Regions from separate parts of the Homo sapiens genome. Here regions 1 and 3 are each linked to region 2. Evidence: promoter capture Hi-C in human tissues and cell types (Jung and others, 2019). All regions are on one chromosome and are shown on one strand. The core of a region is centred on a gene start or on the middle of the fragment in contact, and the rest is flanking DNA. Distances in the headings are between cores, read along the strand shown. Region 1 overlaps NUP43 (nucleoporin 43). Region 2 holds the start of RAET1E (retinoic acid early transcript 1E). Region 3 overlaps PCMT1 (protein-L-isoaspartate (D-aspartate) O-methyltransferase).

Region 1 (2,700 bases), core at 62-2,561, 160 kb after region 2:
GTGGTGGCTCAAGCCTGTAATCCCAGCATTTTGGGAGGCCGAGGCTGGTGGATCACCTGAGGTCGGGAGTTCGAGACCAGCCTGACCAACATGGAGAAACCCAGTCTCTACTAAACATACAAAATTAGCTGGGTGTGGTGGCACATTTCTAATCCCAGCTATTTGGGAGGCTGAGGCAGGAGAATAGCTTGAATCCGAGAGGTGGAGATTGCGGTGAGCCGAGATCGCGCCATTGCAGTCCAGCCTGGGCAACGAGCAAAAAAAAAAAAAAGAAACAGAAAACAGTTCAGATGTCCTGTGAGTAAATGTTTTTCCCATCCAAAGAGAATCCATTTAAACATATACATTAACCATGCATTTTTCTATAGAAATTTAAATTATAAGTTACTGGAAATTGTAATATATCAATCCATGAAAGGAGTGTGATTTAAGATTTTCTTGGGAAAAAAAGGGGACTCATTAACACATACTACCATTTTTTAAATTTTTAGACAATGCAGATAGTAGTACACTCCATGCTGTAACCTTTCTTCGAACTCCTGAGATTCTTACTGTAAATTCAATTGGACAGTTGAAAATATGGGATTTCAGACAACAAGGAAATGAGCCTTCTCAGATATTGTCACTGTAAGTGTTGATTTGTAATTTCAGTAATGTAATCCACAAATTAATGTGTTAGGTTGTTTATAGCTACTGGCTTTAAGCCATATTGAATTTTAATTGCATTTTAAGAGGGAGATCCCTGATTAAAATTTGGTAGAGCAAGCATAACTTGACGGGGTTGGTACTACTATGCTTCATTTAGTAATTATTTGTTATAGTGATTCAGAGCCTTTACTCTTTGAAGTTTGTATTATTTCATGGAGAACTTATTTCTGCTCTTTCAATGATTGTTTAATGGATAAAATATACTCCAGATGTAATGATTGGGGGAAAAATATAATTCCAAATATTTTTTCTGAGCAGAAATCCCCCTTTGTAGGTGTACAACGTTCTCTCGTAAGAAAATAGAATGTGTCACACTGAAAAAATAGTTACATAAACTAAGCATTAAATAAGATGATAAATAATATTTAGTATATAATTGATGTATGAGTTTTTAAATAATTTAACAAGTGGAAATGTGATTTGTACATCTTACCATCGGATTGTCTTTCATTCCATGTCTCCAAATTGAAGTGAAAATGAATAATTGTGGCCTTGAATTATTTCAAAATTGTACTATTTAGAAATATATCTAATTTAGTTCATTTTTTTTGGTATCATTAAGATTCAGCCAGGCTGGGCGTGGTTGCTCATGCTTGTAATCCCAGCACTTTGGGAGGCCGAGGCAGGCAGATCACTTGAGGTCAGGAGTTCAATACCAGCCTGGCCAACACAGTGAAACCCCGTCTCTACTAAAAATACAAAAACTAGCCAGGCATGGTGGCACGTGCCTATAGACCCCGCTACTCAGGAGGCTGAGGCAGGAGAATCACTTGAACCTGGGAGCCAGAGTTTGCAGGAGAATCACTTGAACCTGGGAGGCAGAGTTTGCAGGAGAATCACTTGAACCTGGGAGGCAGAGTTTGCAGTGAGCTAAGATCGTGCCATTGCACTCCAGCCTGGGCAACAAGAACAAAACTCTGTCTCAAATAAAAAAAAGATTCAGCCAGTAGCTCCAGCCACTAAGTTGACACTTAGTTACCATATAAAACATGTTTCTTGGCTGAGCATGGTGACTCATGCCTGTAATCCCAACATTTTGGAAGGATTATCTGCGGTGAGAAGTTTGAGACCAGCTAGGGCAACACAGTGAGACCCCATCTCTACCAAAATTTCTTAAAATAGCCTGGCACGGTAGCATGTGCCTGTAGTCCTAGCTACTTGGGAGGCTGAGGCAAAAGGCTCTTTTGAGCCCAGCTTGCAGCAAGCTGTAGATAGGCCATTGCACTGTAGCCTGGGTGACAAGACAAGACCCTGTCTCTCTTTTTTTTTTTTTTCTTTGAGACAGAGTCTTACTCTGTCACCCAGGCTGGAGTGCAGTGGCATGATCTTGGCTCACTGCAACTTCTGCCTACTGGGTTCAGGCGATTCTCATGCCTCAGCCTCCCAAGTAGCTGGAACTACAGGCATGTGCCACCATGCCTGGCTAGTTTTTGTATTTTTAGTAGAGATGGGGTTTCGCCATTTTGGCCTGGTTGGTCTTGAACCTCAAGTCATCCACCTGCCTTGGCCTCCCAAAGTGCTGGGATTACAGGTGTGAGCCACTGAGCCTGGTCTCTTAAAAAATAAACAAAAAAAAACAGGCTGGGCACGGTTACCAGTCATCCCAGCACTTTGGAAGGCCAGGGTGGCTAGATCACTGGAGCCTGGGAGTTTGAGACCAACCTGGGCAACATGGAGAAACCCCATCTCTACAAAAATACAAAAAGTTAACCAGGCATGATGGTACACACATGTACTCCCAGCAACTCAGGAGGCTGAGGTGGGAGGATACCTGAGCCCAGGGAGTTTGAGCCTACAGTAAGCAATGATTGCAGCGCTGCATTCCAGCCTGGGTAAGTGAGGCCTTGTCTCAAAACAAACAAAAAACGTGTTTCCTGTGTTACACAAAGATAAATTATACTTTATTTGATTTTGACGTCATTGTTATCTCCCACAAAAGGACTGGTGACCGAGTGCCACTCCACTGTGTTGATAGACATCCCAACCAACAGC
Region 2 (2,700 bases), core at 154-2,653:
GTCATTGCTTTAGGGGAACAAGTTCAGGTGAAGAAGGTCCAGGATGGCCTGGGCAGGCAGAGGTCTCCCATTATGAAATAGAGGCCTTTACATTTAACAGTGGTTAAGATGAAAAATCACGTTACATGAATCATACCACAATTTTAAAAAAAGAAAGAAAGAAAGAAATACAAGGGTTCCAAATGCGAGGGGCAGGGAGAACCAGGCGTGGAAGGGTGTGCCACCTGGGAGCAGGAGTGGGAGTGAGCCGGGCAGATGCCTGAAGGGCAGTCCATGCTGAAGGGAGGGCAATGCAAAGTCCCAAGGCACGGGGACATCTGCAGGGCTCTGAAGACCAGCAAGGAGGCCGAGGGTGGAGGTCGGAACTGAGCGAGTGAGGGGGCATAATGGACAGCTGGCCAGACTGTGCAGGGCTCTCTAGGCATCTGTAGTGACTTTGGTTTTACTGAGAGAAAAAGGGCACTTTTGGAGAATTGGAGCAGAGGGGGGCGTGAGTGATGAGGTTCTGAAGATCACTCTGGCTGCGCTGTAGCCATTTGGGAGGTGGGGACAGGCACGGAGAACCAAGTAGGGCAGCACTGCAATCACCCTGGCCAGGAGGACGGTGGCCTAGAACCAGGGTCGAGTACTAGATGACAGTGTGGTCAAATCATAGATATTTTATTTCTAGTCCAAAGAAGAGATAAGAAAGAGGTCGAGCAAATAGGTGATTTTTTTTTTAAATTATTCACAGCCTTATAACATAACCTCTAAATCTTCAGTAAAGTTGGCTACATTCACAAGTAGCTGGTGTCACTTTGGTGGGGGCTTTGTAAGGAAGTGGGCAGGGTGTCTTTTAAGGAAGACTCAGGAGAAGTGCTGGTCTTCCAGTTGCAGAGGGGAATGGAGTTGCAAGAAGAAAACAGCGAGGTTCAGTGACACACAGTGCGAACACGAGCTCAGGGGGCAGGAGCTCCAGGTCTCAAGAGGGCAGGACGATAATGCAGTGTTTGCACAGAAACCAAGCAATAGAGGGAGCCAGCACCCACCAGAAATGAGGTAGGGCCGCTGTCACAGCTATGCCAGGACCTGCAGAAGCCTAAACCCTGAAAAAAGGTGGGGGCCCCCACCTACATATCAAGGAAAACATATGTATGCCATCACATGCTGGTCTCCAACAACTGCTAAAATTACATTAAATCCTTTCTAGAATTTCGTGGCTGGGACTTGAGTCTGGTCTTGGTCCTTCTACTGATGGTGAATCCAGTACTGAATTGGATCCAATTCTGGACGAGTTACCCTGTCCTAGAATCACTCACACGTGACAGTTGACAGGTGGCCCCACCCGGTTTGCATGGTGGACGGGTGTTCTGCTAGGCCGGCCTCTCCACACCCAGAGAGACTGAACTGGTTTCTGCTCCTCAGAGAGTTTGCACAGAGACTCTGAGGAAGCAGTCACCTCAGGCCTCTCCATCCTAGAGACGGCAGAAGGACAAACATCTCCTGCTGGCACAAGGTAGGGGGTGGGGGATGGCTGGTGTTCCAAACACCCGTGCAGAGGGAACGTGTGCATGTTTGGGAGTGAAGGAGGAAAGCAGGGGCTCGAGTGGTGAGAGAACCAGGGGCAGATAATGAAGTAAAAGTGGGGTTGGGGGAGATGCTGGGGGTGTGGCGGCGGGGACGCTGGATAAGGCAGGGAGGACGGGGTGGCTCTGCGGGTCCTCTGCCTCCACACCAAGCACTCAGGGATCCGTGCCTCCTTCCAGTCTGGAGTCCCAATCGCCCCTCTCTCCAATTTGGGGGACAGGGATTTCTCCTTGTTCTCCTGCCCTAACTCCTTCTTTCCGACTTCTCTTGTCCCATTCTCCCTCAGATCCTCCCTTCCGCTTATGCCAAGGCTTCCACAGCCTCGCTCTGCCGGGCCTTGGCATTCCTAGCCTGAGTGTTGAAACCATTGGCCGGGACCTCAAGGCAGCTGGGGCAGGGAGAGGACGGTTAGAAGCCCAGGGCACACTGCCACAAAAAGGCTGTGACTCATTTTCAGGGATTGAAAACTGCAGTCCAATTCATTTTAAAATTTTCGTCTCTCTTTGGACTTCAGGCTGAAAGTTCTTTATAGCAACGGGCTTCCAGGGACTATGTGAAATTATTGGTTTCACTTTCCTTATCACCCGCTTCTTACTTCAATTAAAATTCCATTTCAGCCGGGTGTGGTGGCTCACTCCTGTAATCCCAACACTTTGGGAGGCTGAGGGGGGAGGATTGTTTGAGCCCAGGAGTTCGAGATCAGCCTGGGCAACGTGATGAGACCCCATCTCCACACCAAAAATTTAAAAATTAGCTGGGTGTGGTGGCTCATGCCTGTAGTGCCAGCTATTCTGGAGGCTGAAGTGGAAGGACTGATTGAGCCTGGGAGTTCAAGGCTGCAGTGAGCCGTGCTCATGCCACTGCACTCCACCTGGATGACAGAGCAAGACCTGGTCTCAAAAAACAAAACAAACAAAAATCTACTTCATATGTAACCATTACTTCAGTTTTGAAACCATTGCCTGAAGCTGACATTTTGCAGTTGGAAAATGGCTATTCCTTCCCATCTTCAGGTTGGCTCAGGCCAAGCTGAGATTCAGGACCACAGAGGGCAACAAAGGTGGAAGGGCCCCTTTCCCCTTTCTGTATATTTTTCCCAGCCTGTCTGCAGCTCTTTCTTTTTCTTCAGTGTTA
Region 3 (2,783 bases), core at 23-2,522, 130 kb after region 2:
AAAAAATAAAAAATAAAAAATAAAAAATAAAAAAATAAGGTCAATTAACGACACTATAAAGGGTATAAATACAAACTTTCCAAGTAACAATGAATATTTTTTAAAATTAGCAAAAAAGGCACATCAAATAGAGAAAACAATGTAAATAGTAATAAACTAGCAAAGACAAACTTATATGGTCTTTCCATTTTAAAATATAAATTTTGGATAAATTACCCAAATAGAAAATATTATTTCTACCCGAAGAAGCATAGGCAAGCTACCCAAAAAGGTAATTAGAATAAAACACTGAAAGCATTTTTTAATTTTTTTTTTTTTTTTTTTTGAGACAGAGTCTCGCTCTGTCTCCCAGGCTGGAGTGCAGTGGCACGATCTTGGCTCACTGCAAGCTCCACCTCCCGGGTTCACGCCATTCTCCTGCCTCAGCCTCCCGAGTAGCTGGGACTACAGGCACCCGCCACCACACCCGGCTAATTTTCTGTATTTTTAGTAGAGACGGGGTTTCACCGTGTTAGCCAGGATGGTCTCGATCTCCTGACCTCGTGGATCCGCCCGCCTCGGCCTCCCAAAGTGCTAGGATTACAGGCGTGAGCCACCGCACCTGGCCGCATTATTTTATTTTTTATATTTATTTATTTATTTATTTAGAGACGGAATCTCACTCTCGCCAGGCTGGAGTGCAGTGGCGCGATCTCGGCTCACTGCAAGCTCCGCCTCCCGGGTTCACGCCGTTTTCCTGCCTCAGCCTCCAGAGTAGCTGGGACTACAGGCACCCGCCACCACGACTGGCTAATTTTTTGTATTTTTAGTAGAGACGGGGTTTCACTGTGTTAGCCAGGATGGTCTCGATCTTCTGATCTCGTGATCTACCCGCCTCGGCCTCCCAAAGTGCTGGGATTAAAGGCGTTCAGCCACCGCGCCTGGCCCCATTTTTTAATTTTTAAAGAGATATGGTCTGGCTTTGTTGCCCAGGCTGGAGTGCAGTGGCACCATCATAGTTTATTATAACCTCAGACTCCTGAGTTCCAGTGCTCTTCCTGCCTTAGCCACCCCAACACCTAGGCCTACATGTGCATGCCACCACACTCGGCTAATTTTTAAAAGTTTTTTTTTAGAGAGTGGGTCTTGCCATGTTGCCCAGGCTGGTCTCAAATTTCTGGCCTCAAGTGATCCTCCCACCTCAGCTGAGATTACAGGTGTGAGCCCCTGTCCCTAGCCTGAAAGCATTTTTTTTTAAAGTTTTAAAAGCAGAGTAATAATAGCAGTGATATTCGCTTAATGTTTACCATGTGAAAGATACAGTACTAATAAACAGAATCTTATGTTGTCTCAAATAAGCCTATAAAGTAGGCACTATTATTATTTCATTTGACAGATCATAACATTGAGGTTAGAAAGACTAGTTAAGTAGTCCAAGATAACAGAGCAAATAAGGGGTAGGGTTATTCAAATTAAGATGTTAGATTTCTATGATCACTTCACTATACTGCTACTAACATATTCAAATAGCTTAGTGAGTTCTACTAATTCATTTCCCAAAATAATTCTTGAGTGGTTCATTTCCCCTGAAATTAATTCAAATCCCAGAGGGTGATTCATAGACTCTCAAAGTCACAAGAGGCTTTAGGAGCCATTGAGTCTAACTTCATAAATTGGTACCATATTCTCTTCTAAAAGAGTTCCATTATTGTGGTTCTTACTAGCTCATTCAGACCACTCTGATTATTAGACAATTTCCCTGTATTAAGATGAATCTCCCTTTTCATAATTCACTCACATGACACTCTTAGTGTTATTCTCTGAAGCCACAAAGAATATATTGAATTTCTATCTAGTCAACCATTTTTTACATAAAGATAAATCAGGACTACCTCCAGCTTTATTTTTTTCAGGTTAGGCAGCTTCACTCAACACTGCCAATTATTCATCAATTTTTGAAACCATCATCATATTCACTGTATTCATTCTTCTCTAGATGGATACTTAAAGTGTGACATCTTAAAGATTTTACTTGAGGCACATTCTAAAAATCAAAGTAAATTAAAGAAATCACTTCCTTCAAGCTCGATAATATACTTCTATCAAATTTATGTGAGCTTCTTTGGCTCTACAGATATGAAGGCATATGGAAGTTACTAAAAACTCTAAATTGTTATTAATAGCATGCCATCAGCCATTTATTAAAAAGCTGAACCCATCATGTCTCAGAATAAAGCTTTTTTAGGCATTACTGGGTGGTTTCCAAAATTTTCACAAGTTTCTTATTATTTATTTTTGCCCAGGATCCCATGTTCTAAAAGATGCTTAAACCAAACTATTATATATTTACTAAGCTATTAAATAATTTTTCTGTCATTGGTAATCTATGATATATATATCATAGATATATATATCATAGATATCATAGATATTTATATCATAGATATCATAGATATATATATCATAGATATCATAGATATTTATATCATAGATATCATAGATATATATATCATAGATATCATAGATATATATCATAGATATCATAGATATATATCATAGATATATATATCATATATATCATAGATATACATATCATAGATATATATATCATATATATCATAGATATACATATCATAGATATATATATCATAGATATACATATCATAGATATCATAGATATATCATATATATCATAGATATATATATCATATATATCATAGATATATATATCATATATATCATAGATATACATATCATAGATATATATATCATATATATCATAGATATATATATCATAGATATAT

Evidence for each region. Contacts are between HindIII fragments. The study calls those that stand out against the background at their distance.
Region 1: a fragment that was not itself captured here is called in contact with the fragment with the promoter of RAET1E in region 2 in 1 of the 25 tissues and cell types used here (aorta).
Region 3: a contact is called between a fragment that was not itself captured here and the fragment with the promoter of RAET1E in region 2, in 1 of the 25 tissues and cell types used here (aorta).

The regions. Positions count from the first base shown.
Region 1 is chr6:149,736,570-149,739,269 of GRCh38, reverse strand. NUP43 (nucleoporin 43) reads left to right here. Exons shown (of 8, transcript NM_198887.3): 5 at 492-627; 6 at 2,648-2,700. Among named protein-coding and RNA genes, the nearest start is that of NUP43, 8.6 kb to the left of the region's middle. The HindIII fragment of the contact is 8,101 bases long and covers 1-2,700 here.
Region 2 is chr6:149,896,816-149,899,515 of GRCh38, reverse strand. RAET1E (retinoic acid early transcript 1E) reads left to right here and starts at 1,403. Exons shown (of 6, transcript NM_001394057.1): 1 at 1,403-1,495. All of the region lies in intron 1 of RAET1E-AS1 (RAET1E antisense RNA 1), which reads right to left. RefSeq lists a silencer at 849-1,143. The HindIII fragment of the contact is 8,770 bases long and covers 1-2,700 here.
Region 3 is chr6:149,762,902-149,765,684 of GRCh38, reverse strand. The region is part of intron 1 of PCMT1 (protein-L-isoaspartate (D-aspartate) O-methyltransferase); the gene reads right to left. Among named protein-coding and RNA genes, the nearest start is that of PCMT1, 15 kb to the right of the region's middle. The HindIII fragment of the contact is 5,916 bases long and covers 1-2,783 here.